2 separate regions of the Homo sapiens genome follow, and region 2 is linked to region 1. Evidence: promoter capture Hi-C in human tissues and cell types (Jung and others, 2019). All regions are on one chromosome and are shown on one strand. Each heading gives the region's core, a stretch centred on a gene start or on the middle of the fragment in contact. The rest is flanking DNA. Distances are from core to core; before and after follow the strand shown.

The links. Contacts are between HindIII fragments. The study calls those that stand out against the background at their distance.
Region 2: a fragment that was not itself captured here is called in contact with the fragment with the promoter of AMER2 in region 1 in 1 of the 25 tissues and cell types used here (lymphoblastoid cells).

What each region holds. Positions count from the first base shown.
Region 1 is chr13:25,169,120-25,175,585 of GRCh38, forward strand. AMER2 (APC membrane recruitment protein 2) reads right to left here and starts at 3,169. Exons shown (of 1, transcript NM_152704.4): 1 at 1-3,169. The coding sequence starts at 2,500. The coding sequence ends at 485. It overlaps LINC00463 (long intergenic non-protein coding RNA 463), which reads right to left. Exons shown (of 4, transcript NR_120428.1): 3 at 4,794-4,968; 4 at 3,705-4,203. RefSeq lists a silencer at 1,659-1,748 and an enhancer at 4,028-5,227. The HindIII fragment of the contact is 4,196 bases long and covers 262-4,457 here.
Region 2 is chr13:24,641,133-24,647,598 of GRCh38, forward strand. No RefSeq gene overlaps it. Among named protein-coding and RNA genes, the nearest start is that of ATP12A, 36 kb to the right of the region's middle. The HindIII fragment of the contact is 4,818 bases long and covers 1-4,760 here.

The DNA of each region.
Region 1 (6,466 bases), core at 1,919-4,418:
TGGAAAGGAAAGAGGAAAGAAGGGAAGGAAGGAAACGTGTCTTGGAAGAGGAGATCTCCTCTGGTTCTTCAGCGGTTCCTTCAGGCCTCTAGACACTGGCTTATCCCAATATCCAGGCATGACTCTTACTTAGGTTTGGCTAAGTTCTGTTTTCTGCAAAGGCAAGTAAAGGTGACTTCCAAGTGTTCAGTATATTAAAGCAAAAGGAAGAAAAACTTAAAGGTAAAAAAGAAAAAAGTGCTTGAAAATAATTCTCAGGGACTTATCTTGAGAGGAGAAACCCCCGTGTAGCATCCCTCTTTCTGGTGTTATCCGGTCCCTGCTCAGGGCACAAAGACCTCCTCGGTCCACGCTCTGGAGCAGGGCGGGGGACGGGTGGTGTCCTAAAAGACTTTCTTTAGGAAAAGCAAAACTTACTTTAGTGGTTTCCAGGGAAAAGTTGTATTCCTTGGCATGGGGCCCATCCACCTTGGCCTGGAAGACCTCACAACTTTTTGGCACTGTCGTGGCAGGCCGTTGCTCTGATGGTGGTCCCAGCCAAGCCCCGGTTGCTGACTCTGCGGACCAGCACTTTGGAAACCGGGATTTTTGTTCTGGGCATCTCACTCCTGGAGGGTTGCTGGTGCACCACGGGATGGCTAGATGGAAGGTTGGTCAGGTGCTTGATGCTAATAGGGATCTTAGAGTCCTTCAGCAAGCTGCCTGGTGTTCGCAGTGGACAGGTGATGGTGCCTGGAGATACGGGCTTTAACCGGGACAGGGAGGACGTCTCCTCGTTGTCCTTCCCTCCAGGAAGGGTTGCTGGACTTCCGTCCGGGTCAGCATAGAGATCATAGAGCGCGTCCCCGCTGTAGCTATCCCGGGGGATGCCCGCCTTCTTCCCGCTGCTCGAGCTGTCTTCCTCTGGGCCTGGCGTGGTGGAGTCCCAGTAGCCCTCGTCGCTGTTGGGGACGCCTTCCTGCTGCTCCTTCTCCGGGTGCTTGGGCTCCTCCTTAGGATGGGGCTCGATGGGAATCCGGTTGAGCCTCCTGCGCTTGACCGAGGACGCGTCCTTGGCCGCTTCCACACACCTGGTGTCTTTGGGGGTCTCGGGCACCACCTTGGTTTCCAGCGCAGCTGCCACCTTAGCCGCGCCCTCCTGGGGCTCGGGTCCCTGCTCCTCGGTCTGGGAGAGCATGTCCCAGAACTCCTGTAGATAGGTGTCGTCCACCTCGTCCGGGCTGGCCATCTCTTCCCCGCCTCCTTGGTAGGCCACCACGCCGGGGTTCTTTTTAGACAGAGCCGGCTTGCCTGGCCCGGGGACATGCTTGTCACAGCTGGGACCTGCCTCTTCCTCTTGGTCTGCAATAATATCTCCACAGCCTGTAAGAGAGTCAAAGCTTTTCAGTGAAGTCACGTCAGAAAACATCAAACAAATACGATCTGCCGACGGGTCTGAGGGTGGATCGACAGAGGCAGGGTCTGGGGCGGCGGGCGCCCGGCCGCTGCCGCCTTCGGAGTCGACAAGGGGGACCGTCTTTACGGGAACGGCCCCCGTCCTGGAAGCGTCCTCTGCCGTGCGGACCTCCCCGGGCCCCGGCTCGGCGCGCCGATGCCCCGCGGCGTCCTCTCCCCGGGCGCCGGTGTCGCCGGGGTGCGCGAGGCCCTCTGCCTCTCGGCAGCTCCGCGCTGGGGCGCGGTCGGCGGGGGCGGGCACCTCCTCTCCCCCTGCGGGCTCACCTGCTGGGTCTCGCGGGGCGTCCTGGCTGGGCTCCTCCGGCTCGCGCGCGGCTCTGGGCGTCTCCTCCTTGACGCACTCCAGGCTGGCGGTGAGCGAGCCGGGTAGGATCAAGCCGCCCCCGGGCGCGCGCCCCTCCGCGGCCTCCGCCTTGGCCCGCTTGTCTTTCCTGTGCCAGCGCATGCCGCTGAACAGCCCCCGCAGCCCCCGCTTTTGTTTGCCGCCGGCCTTGCTCGCGTCCACAGGCTCTCCCTTGCCGTTTTCCGAGCGCCCGTTCTTCTTCAGCAGCGAGAAGAAGCTGTGCGACTTGGCCACCGAGCTGCTGGCGAGGGAGCCCCCGCCGGGCCCTGCGGCTCTGGGGGGCCCCGGGTTCGGCCGCCCCCCGCCGCCCCCGCCGCTGTCGCCCCCGCCGCGCGGCTCCTCCTTCCTGCCGCTCTCCAGCACCAGCACCTCGGCAAGTCCGTCGTGGGTCCTGCTCCTCACCAGCCCCGTCGGACCCGAGCTTTTCCCGTCCCCTTTGTTTTTGACCCCAAAAATGCTGGGCATGGTGCCACCCGATTTCCTCTTCTTGAATAATTTGAAGGCAGCTTTATTAATCTTCCCCGACGGCGGCTCGGCGGCCGGCGTTTCGGCGGCACAGTCACAATGCAAGTCCATGTCTGCCGCGAGGGTCCCGGTCCCGGCCCCGGCCTCCGCCTTCCTCCTGCAGACCCCCACGGACGCGCCAGCTCCGCCGCGCTCGCTGACAGCCCCGCCGCCGCCGCGGCTCCGGCTCGTCTCCATGGAAACCGCGCGGGATAAGCCGCTTTCGTCAGCAGTGGGCTCGCGCCAGGCCACTGTCACCCGTATTCTAAATCAACCTGAGCCGCGCTCGCCGCCGCCGCTGCAAAAGAAACACACATAAAAGACCATCTTCCCTCCCGCAAGGGCTTATATAATACCCTAACCCACTTCCATCCGACTTGGCTCGGCGCTGCATGGCGTTTTTGTGGCAGGAGCAGGCAACACAGCCGCGAGCTGATTGCAGAAATTCGAGTCGTAATTATGGAATTCAAATTCCCTCAACTCTCACCCACCTTCGGATTCCTTCTCTAGACTCGCTCTTCACGGGAGCGCAACCATGGATCACGAAATGCCTCTAAAAACGACAACGCAATTCAACCCACCACAAAATGCTTGTTTTTCTTATCCTCTCTCCTAGACTCCCTGCATCTTCATGCCTTTCCCAAGCCCTTCATGTCTGTCCTTAGCATTGGTGCACTAAGCCCAGCAGGCAGGAAGCATGTCTGCCTACATCCATGTCTTGTCCAGAGCTGAGCACACGCTAGGTCCATGCTGTGTGGCTGTCATTGTGGTTATGGTTCTTGTGACAAAAGTACACGCCACCACTCAATCAGTCTATCAGCAGCCCAGCAATGCAAGCACAACAGCTCCCCGGGGTGGAGTTTGCCTGCACCTTTGGGACAACCATGACTTTTATCCCAGACTCCAGCCACCACGGGATGAAGTCACAGATGCTGCGGCACAGCCCACATCTGATAACAATAGACAAGCTGACCGAGACACACAGGCTGGGAATCTCAGACCCACTCCACAGGTGGGCCTTCGAGTCCGGGTTCTGCCCTCTCCTTTCCCACTCAGCAGGACAGTGGCATTATTCCTGTCACTGCGGTACCACTCCCCTCCCCCATACCACCAGGGCTGACTTGTAGTCCCCTTCCCCAATGTACAGAGCAGGAAAAGCTTGGCAGGGGTCCCTGTGTGTCCAGGGATCTCTGCAGACATTCCTACCTGCCTGGTCTGGGGAGAGGGAAAACCTTTTTTCTGGGAACAGCTCAGTCTAGGGATCTGTTCTGTGTTCTGATTTAAAAAGTGACTGCTAATATTCTAATCTTGACATCTGATTTCATAATCCCAGCTGAGTGCTTTTTAGCAAAAAGAAATTTGGAGAAGCATATACATATATAAATATAACATGTATATATAGTATATATTATTTAATCATTTGATTATTTATTAAATATCATTTAAGAATATATGTAATAATTACATATATACACAAACAGTAGTCTTTTCCCTACTCATTTTTTATATGCTCTTTGCATTAGGCCAATAAATCCCAATCCCCATCCACATAAGTTGGCGTTTTATAAATGACGTATGTTGGCCATTGCAGCTTCTGTTGTTATGAGATACAGCTGGTTAAAATTTAGACCTTGGAGTTCTTAGTTGTATTATTTCCTTTTTTTGTTTATTTTTTTCAAGAACACTGTTTTGTAAAACGAAGAAATCAATGAGTTCAGGTTCAGGAGAGGTTGTCACTTCCAGACTCTAATCCCATCAACTCTTTCTCACTATTGATGAGCATCTCTCCTGGTACAGGAAGTAAGGTGAGGCCAGAGAGAGGCTTTCCCGGATTCTAATTGACCGCTTGACATGATGAATCAGAGTCCTCAGTGCTTTCTGGGGAGACCACGTGTAAGGAACTGTAAAGAGAAACCCATTTGTTACGTCTTTACAACCTTTTGAAGAACAATAGAAAGTCTCTCAATTTTACACACATACACACACACACACACAAACACACACACACCCATACAGTTGCTTAGATTTGTGGGTTACTATGTAGCTCTGTCAGTTTGGAAGAGTTTGTGACTGGGATCAAGGAAAAGTAAGTCGCCTATTAAAAAATCTCCCTTTCTCCACTGGGAGAAAGTGGTCTGCTTATTCACCCATCAGGACAGGTCAAATGTGACTCTAATTTACATGAGAATCTTTGGGCCTCCTGGGAGAAATCTGATAGAGGACTTTGGGATGGATATCATTCTTTTGGGACATCAACACTCAAACAAAGAGAAAGAGACAAAGCTGTCTTCAGCCTGCGGAAGGTGCCCTCACTGTGAGTTACTGGCCCTGAGATAGAAGAAAGCAGGGACCCCTGGAACAATCTGAAGGCACTGGGCATGGGAGCTGTAGAGGCTGCGGTGTGAGTGAGGACCCTCCAGCGTCCTACTCAAAGTCCTTGTTACAGAGACAGTGGGAAAAACGAGGGTGAAGTCAGCTGAAAGGAACTTACCCCAAAAGCCAGACAGGTAAGGAGAGACTCTGTAGGGGAGAGAGATGAGGCGCAGGATGGTCCAATGGTTTGTTGGTTAGAGCCAGGTTATGAATCATCACAAAGACTGAGCCATACCTTATATTAAACTTCACAGTCAAGAGTGGAGAAAGCAAAATGGTGATTTTTTTTTTCCCTGAGAGACAGAACATGACAGTGAAGATAATTTTACCGTAAGCACTCCCATTTTTGTTTATAGTTTCTTCTTTCATTCTTTTCCCCCATCCTGCCCCAGCTTGGGAGTGAATAGAAAATTAGAGTAGAAAGGAATAGAGAACAGGACCGAGGGGAAACATTTCAGGGAAAAGCCATTCCAAAACAATAAGACGTATCACAAATGCAAACAGCAAGTGGATTTTGCTGGAAGACATGTGTGGGCTTTTCTTTGTTGGCACCAGGAAGTATTTGTCGTTTTGTTGAGGCTTTTTTCTCTAGGTAGTGAGCTTCTCTGGAGGATGGTACTCAAAAGGAAAAAAAAAAAACAAGAGAAACACAGGAAGAACCATTTGAGAACTTAACGTCGTCGTCATCATCATCATCATCATCATCATCATCACATCATCATCACATCATCATTTCCTTTTTTAGGGTGCCTTCAAAGCAGTCCAGCCCTTTGCCCAAAGCTTACTGGGTGGAATTTCTTTCTTTCTCTTTCTTTCTTCTCTTTTCTTTTTCTTTCTTTCCTTTTCTTTCCTTTCTTTCTCTTTCTTTCTCCTCTCCTCTCCTTTCCTTTCCTTCCTTTCCTTCCTTCCCTTCTTCTCTCTCCCTTCCCTCGCTCCCACCCTCCCTTCCTCCCTCCCTCCCTCCCTCCCTCCCTCCCTTCCCTTCCCTTTCCTTCCTTCCTTCCTTCCTTCCTTCCTTCCTTCCTTCCTTCCTTTCTTTCTTTCTTTCTTTCTTTCTTTCTTTCTTTCTTTCTTTCTTTCTTTCCTTCCTTCCTTCTTTCCTTCCTTCCTTCCTTCCTTCTTTCTTTTTTCCCAGAGTCTTGCTGTGTCACCCAGACTGGAGTGCAGTGGCGTGATCTCGGGGCTCACTGCAGCCTCTGCCTGCCAGGCTTAAGCAATTCTCCTGCTTCTGCCTCGCCTGTAACTGGGATCACAGGTGTACGCCAACAAACCCAGCTAATTTTTTTTTTTAAGTAGAAACGGGGTTTCACCATGTTTGCCAAGCTGGTTTCAAATTCCTGACCTCAAGTGATCTGCCCGTCCCGGCCTCCCGAAGTGCTGGGATTACAAGCATAAGCCACCGCACCCAGCACTGGGTGGAATTTTCTATCCTAGGTGAGCCACCGAGGAGCTTCCCTTTGAGCTGCTGTGTGGCTGCTGCTAAGGGACTTCTCATATGTCATAGCATTGCTGCTTAAGGAGGCTGCTAGCTTTACCTTAAACTTGCTGTGGGTCTTTAAAGGGATAATGGTTCATCAATACGGTTTGGAAATAATACCTGAGTTGAGACTACCACCTCCCATCTGCAGACCACTTGGCCAGCTCCTGACCTCACCCCAGGCTGAAATGTCTACCTCCCTGCTCATGTCCATTCCCACCTGGGATTATCCTCCAAGGTGGACTTGAGAAGCTGTGCTGCCAGTGAGAACCCCCAAATGTCCAGCCCAAGTTCCTCTTTATGAGATGAACAGA
Region 2 (6,466 bases), core at 1,102-3,601, 530 kb before region 1:
CCGGATGCAGTGGCTCACGCCTGTAATCCCAACACTTTGGGAGGCTGAGGCGGGTGGATCACCTGAGGTCAGGAGTTCAAGACCAGCTTGGCCAACATGGTGAAATTCTGTCTCTACAAAAATACAAAAATTAGGTGAGCATGATGGCGAGTGACTGTAGTCCCAGCTACTCAGGAGGCTGAGGTAGGAGACTCGCTTGAAGCCAGGAGGCAAAGGTTGCGGTGAGCTGAGATCACACCATTGCACTTCAGCCTGGGTGACAGAGCGAGACTCCATCTTAAAAAAAAAAAAAAAGTATTTGTATGTCAGAACAGAAAAAGAAACCTCTTCTATTAGGGTACCAACTAAAGATATGAAGAAAAATTATAATCTGGTACTCTCTATAGGATTATTGTAGCCAAGAAATGACTTAATCTGCATTCAAAAAAAGTTAGGGCTGAAATCTAGTATTAAGTGTTACACTTTTCCCTTGAAACAAGCTTCTCTAGCTGCTTTTTTTTTTTAATTAAAGAGAAATTATAGCAACACCAATTTGTGTGCCAGGCAAGTTTTAGGTTTATTATGCTTGCATGGTTATTTGCATAAAATGCAGCAAGAATTCATTGGCCATATATACTCCTTTTGAGTTGGCTTTGCTGGAACTATACCTAACAATACGCTATTTTAGTTTAAGTCTTGGAAAAATAACCGGTGCCTCCAATTTTTTTTTTTTTTAAACTCTTATTGAACTTATGCGGACAACTATATCGTCACAAAATTACAATCTGAATTTTGGTGAACCCAAAAGGTAAGTTTGCTTACAAAAACACAATTTACTCCTCCCCCAAAAAAGACAAAATAAAAAATAAACATACTTTAGCCAAATAGCTTAAAAGAAAAAGAAAGATTTTCTTAACCTTTCTTTAACCAGAGCAGCAGCTTTAAAACCAGATGCTTGTTTACCTTGGAAATGCCAATTACAAACAAAACAGCTCATGAGAGCTGTCTATCAGGCACTGTAGCATTTAGTAGCTCCTCACAATTAGTTCTAGGAAAGAGGCTCTCTTCTTATTAGGTAGCAAGATTTTATGTAAACCATTTTTATTTTATCACAGAACTCTTTGGGGAAATATTATTTCTATTAGCATAGGGGTAGCTTCAGTTAATATTTCATGGCAAGGCAATAAATGCCCCAACAAGTGGAAATTCTCTAATTCAGTCATTGTCATTGAAAAGTACTCATGATCTTTGTCATCGGCCCCGATAAATGTTCCACTCAAAGGGCTACGCAGTGGAGGATTTGTCCCGATTAGCACTCCAGCTCCTACCCTATACTTTGTGGGCTTAGACGATTTTACTAGTTCCTATTTAGTGTGTTCAAATAACATTTCCTAGAAGAGCAGATTTACATGCCCTCAGTTTTACAGTACTAGGAAAAGGAAAACGTCCCCCAGTTAGACATAGTACCCATTTTCATAAGACATTTAGGTAAAAGGGGTTACAACTACCTTACATAAAGCTTGTTTAAACATCATAAATTGTATAATTCTATTAAACTCTATGTTTTTATGTTCGGGTCCCAGGAACCCTTTTACACCCCCAGTCTATTTTACCTTTTCTGGTGAAAAGAGTTTGGGTTCCCAGCAGGGAGTTGTGTCTGTAAGACCTGTGAGGGACAGCAAATTGGATAAGGCTTCTTAAACAGTCCTATGATTCTGTGCAAGGGGCACTCATGTAAAAGGGGGCCCCTTAACCCCCAAATTTACCATGACCTTGAGTAGTAGGCATATTTGGTGGGAAGATACCTCAGTTATCATAAAGCCAGTCCAACATGGCTTGCATATGAAGCATGTTAATGCTTCACCTGGGGTGCTTCACTTGGTATTTTATAGAGAGAGTTGGGCAGTCCCCTTCTCAGGGCAAACAGACCTTACTGGATTTATCCAGTCCACTAGGCTGATTCTTTTCTCAGGAATAACCTTCTGTTCATTTGGATCACATATACTCATCAGTGATTGTTCAGTAGTGAGCTGTGGGTCCTGTATTAATCCAAACACGCTCTTAAATTCTGTAGCATTTAAAATGAATAATTTTGTCCTTAAAAGTGGTGGCTTTTACAATCCACTAAAGATTTTTTAAAGAAGCCGAATGATACCAGTCTACAAAATGGAACAATTTACATTATGCCCTCTGGTTTTTAATGATTACTTGGCTTTACCACAGGGTTCAGATTTAACTTTTGTTGCCCTGGCTTGCTTTCTTTTTTAATCCATTTAGTTTTATCTGTATAATTCTCTTTCATTATAAAGCTACTCTTAGTTTCTTAACCAAAAAACTTACATTTTTTTGAAAATTGACATCCTTGTGTTTTATAAAATTTTGCCAAAAGCATATTTTACGCTCCAACTATTTTAAATTTTAGTAACCCAAATTTCCAGTGGGGGAAAAAAACAGGTTTTTAACATGACTTTAAAATTTTAAATTACTGGGGAGAGTTTTAAGATTAAATTTACCAAGTTTATTTTACCGAAGATTACCAAGTCATGTGAATTAAAAGGCATCTGAGCTAGCTTCTACCAATCTGATAAGCACTTAACATTTTTTAAGTTACTTGATTAGAGCTCTTTCATGTAGTTTGGTAGTAAAATATCACTTCCCCATGACACAAATAAAGATAGAGATATAAAAAGCATGCAGAATAAAAAGGCAGTTTCAAAAGATATTTTATTTGCCAATTTTCAAGAAAATTATCTCACTTATTTTAGACAGTTAATAAAAGTAACAGCAGACAACAAAAGGTAAAGAAGAAAGCTACCATTCAAGGCCTTGCCTTTTCACAAGAGAAAGAGTTGAACTTCTGAGCTATCAATCTGAAGAATGTTAAAGACAGATGATAGAATGTTAAAGTTTAAAAACTTCATGCATTAAAAGTCAAATATTTGTAATAAAATATTGATTTGACTATTTAGTTTTGTATTAGTGTACTTTTAAGTATCAAAGACCCATCTCTACAAAGACTATTATAATTTCCTCTTCATTATAACCAACTGAATTACACAACTGTCAGAGGCATGTGAACCAGAGCAACTCTATCTTGAATAAGGGCTGGGTAAAATGAGGCCAAGACCTACTTGGCTGGATTCCCAGACAGTTAAGGCATTCTAAGTCACAGGATGAAATAGGAGATCAGTACAAGATACAGGTTATAAAGACCCTGCTGATAAAACAGTTTGCAGTAAAGAAGCCAGCTAAAACCCATCAACACCAAGATGGCCATGAGAGTGACCTCTGGCCATCCTCACTGCTACACTCCCCCCAGCGCCATGACAGTTTACAAATGCCATGGCAATGTCATGAAGTTACACCATATGGTCTAAAAGGGGAAGGCATGAATAATCTACCCCTTATTTAGCATATAACCAAGAAATAACTGTAAAAATGGGTAACCAGCAGCCCTCGGGGCTGCTCTGCCTTATGGAGTAGCCATTCTTTATTCCTTTACTTTTCCAATAAGTTGCTTTCGCTTTACTCTATGGGCTCGCTCTGAATTCTTTCTTGCATGAGATTCAAGAACCCTTTCTGGAGTATAGTGCTGCAAACACAGCTCACTGTAGCCTCAACCTCCCAGGCTTAAGCAATCCTCCTGCCTCAGCCTCCCGAGTGGCTGGGACTACAGGTGCATGCCACCATGCCCAGCTAAGCTAATTTTTTCTATTTTTTGTAGAGACAAGGTGTCACTATGTTGCCCAGGCTGGTCTCAAACTCCTGGACTCAAACAGTCCTCCTGCCTTGGACTCCCAAAGTGTTGGGATTTCAGGCATGAGCCACCACACTGAGCCAGGTGAGTTTTGACAAATATATACACCCATATGGCCCAGCACCTCAGTCACAATACAGAATGTCTCCATCACCGCACATGGTTCCCAACTCGACCTCAAACCCAAGTGCTATGGAGTCACTGATTCTGATTTTAATATGCTGTATTATTTGCTATAATACAGCATATACATTTCATGTACATTTTTGTGACAAATGATATGTTTTTATTTTCATTTTTATTGGTACAAAATACTTTCTAATTTCTCTTGTGATGTCTTCTTTTACCCATGGTTATATAAGAAATGTGTTACTTAATTTTAAAACATTTGGGGATTTTCCAAATATCTTTTATTGTTGAATTTGTAAAGGATCTATCCAACAAACTGTTGAGCTCACTTAATAGTAGTTACAGTTCATAATGAGATTCTCTTGGATTTTCCTTATAGATATTTCATCTGACAGTATAAATTTTACATCGGCCAGAATCCCCAGTGTAATATTAAACTGTGGAGGTGATAACAGGGATGTTTGTGTCTGATTTTAATGAGCCTCTTTTAAGATTTCACTATTCAGTGTGAAGTTTGCTATAGGTTTTGAGGCAATACACTTTTAATAAATTAAAGATTATTTATCATAAGCAGAGTTGGGATATTTGAGTGAATTTTCTAAATCTACTGATATAACAATATGATTTTTTCTTTTAATTTGCCAGTGTGATGGATTACATTGAAGATTTTTTTTGCACTCCTCAGATAAACTCTATTGCTCTTTTTATTTTGAATAAAATTCTGGATTTATTTTGCTTGCTATGTTGTATTTTGATAGTGATTTTAACATATCTGAAATATGTTTGAGCAGAAGTGAGGTGAGAATCAAAATTAGCTTATTCTACAGCTATTTTTTCTTATACCGTTTATTGAATGATTCATGTTTCCCATACAGTATGTTCTAAATAATTTTTGATCTTTCTTTTATTATTGTTATTTAATTTTTATTTTTTGAGACAAAGTCTCATTCTGTCACCCAGACTGGAGTGCAGTGGCATGATCTCGGCTCACTGAAACCTCTGCCTCCTGGGCTCAAGTGATCCTCCCACCTCAGCCTCCTGAGTAGCTGGGACTCAGGTCCAGCTCAGTAACTGGGACAGGCATGCACCACCATGCCCAGCTAATTTTTTTTTTTTGTAGGGATGGGGTTTTTCCATGTTGCCCAGGCTGGTCTTGAACTCCTGGGCTCAAGCCATCCTCCCATCTCAGCCTTCCAAAGTGCTGGGATTACAGGCATGAACCACTGCACCCAGCATGGTCTTTTTTTTTTTTTTTTTTCAATATTTTCATTGTCCTGTTGTAGGGAGACCCCCTGAAACTATTGCTACGGAATAAAAGATAAAATGCCCCTGATTATCGTAAATACAAAATTGCCTGCAGGATTGTGTAAAGACAATGCCAGTTTGGGCTGCCAGAACGAGCCAACAGCGTGATGTGCTTCCCCCCTAGAGAGCCTATGAATGGACGTGCAGTCAGGGAGGTTTCACATCACCAAGATTCCTATCCCAGAAAAGCAGATGTTCATAGCTCTGGGAATGGAATGCAACCCTTGTGGAGAGCCTATAAACAGACACATGAGGGGCACCGGTTCATATGGATAAGATAGGGTTATAAATGCCCTCATCTTGCCACAGCTCTTCCAGGTCTCTTTAGGGTTAAGGCATACTCCCTTCTGAGAATTTTTGGTCTAACTGGTTGTCTAGCTTCACGTCCTGTTTCTATGGATTGTTTGCAACCAGCTTTTGCTGCAACTGTTACTGCTGATTAATATTGGCTAATCATAGGTTATGGATAGACTGTGTTTCTGTTTTAAGGCTCTGTTAGAAATTGCTGACGCACACACTATATTGTAAATTCTCATCTCTGCATACTGTACTTCTGCATACCAATGTTATGTTAAAGAATTGCTTCATCCCCATTTGACCATTTCACCTCATAATCAAACGACCCTAAATCCCTCACTAACTGACCCCCACCCTCACTAAACTTAGTAATAAATGCTGGTATATCCAGTGCATTGGCGGCATTGCAGGACCAGAAGGCGGTGACCCCCCTGGACCCAGCTTTCACTATCTTGTGTGTGTCTTTTATTTCTCAACCTGCCGATCCGCCTGGGAACAAAGAAAAAGCCCCGTTGCACTGTGGGCTGCTGGCCAGATCCTGCAATATCCTGTAGTTTTAATAAATGTATTTTAATGTTACTGGCCACTTCAGATTTTTCTTGATTGTTTAATCCAATGAAGGTTTTAAAGATATTCTCATACAGGGAAATGTTAAAATATCTCTCTCAAAGGGATGTCTATGTCTTGGCTGGAAATATTACTCAGTGAGAAATAATTTTAGGCCATAGGGAGATCTCTTTATCTTTGCAAGGGCATTTACTGCCTTAAATGCATTTTAATTGATAGGGAAGAGAGAAAGTCCAATGTAGGTCCACCTACTTGATAACTAAGGCTGAAATCCAGTTCAAGCTGGGCCTGGGGACAGCAGCAGGCTCAGGTGACCAGGGAGGAACCTGGTTCAGCTTCATTCCCTTCAGAATTCTCCAAGGACAAGGCTCCCACCCTTCCGAGCAGGCAGGACTGTGGTCAAGCACATGCCTTTGCCCACACATTAACAAC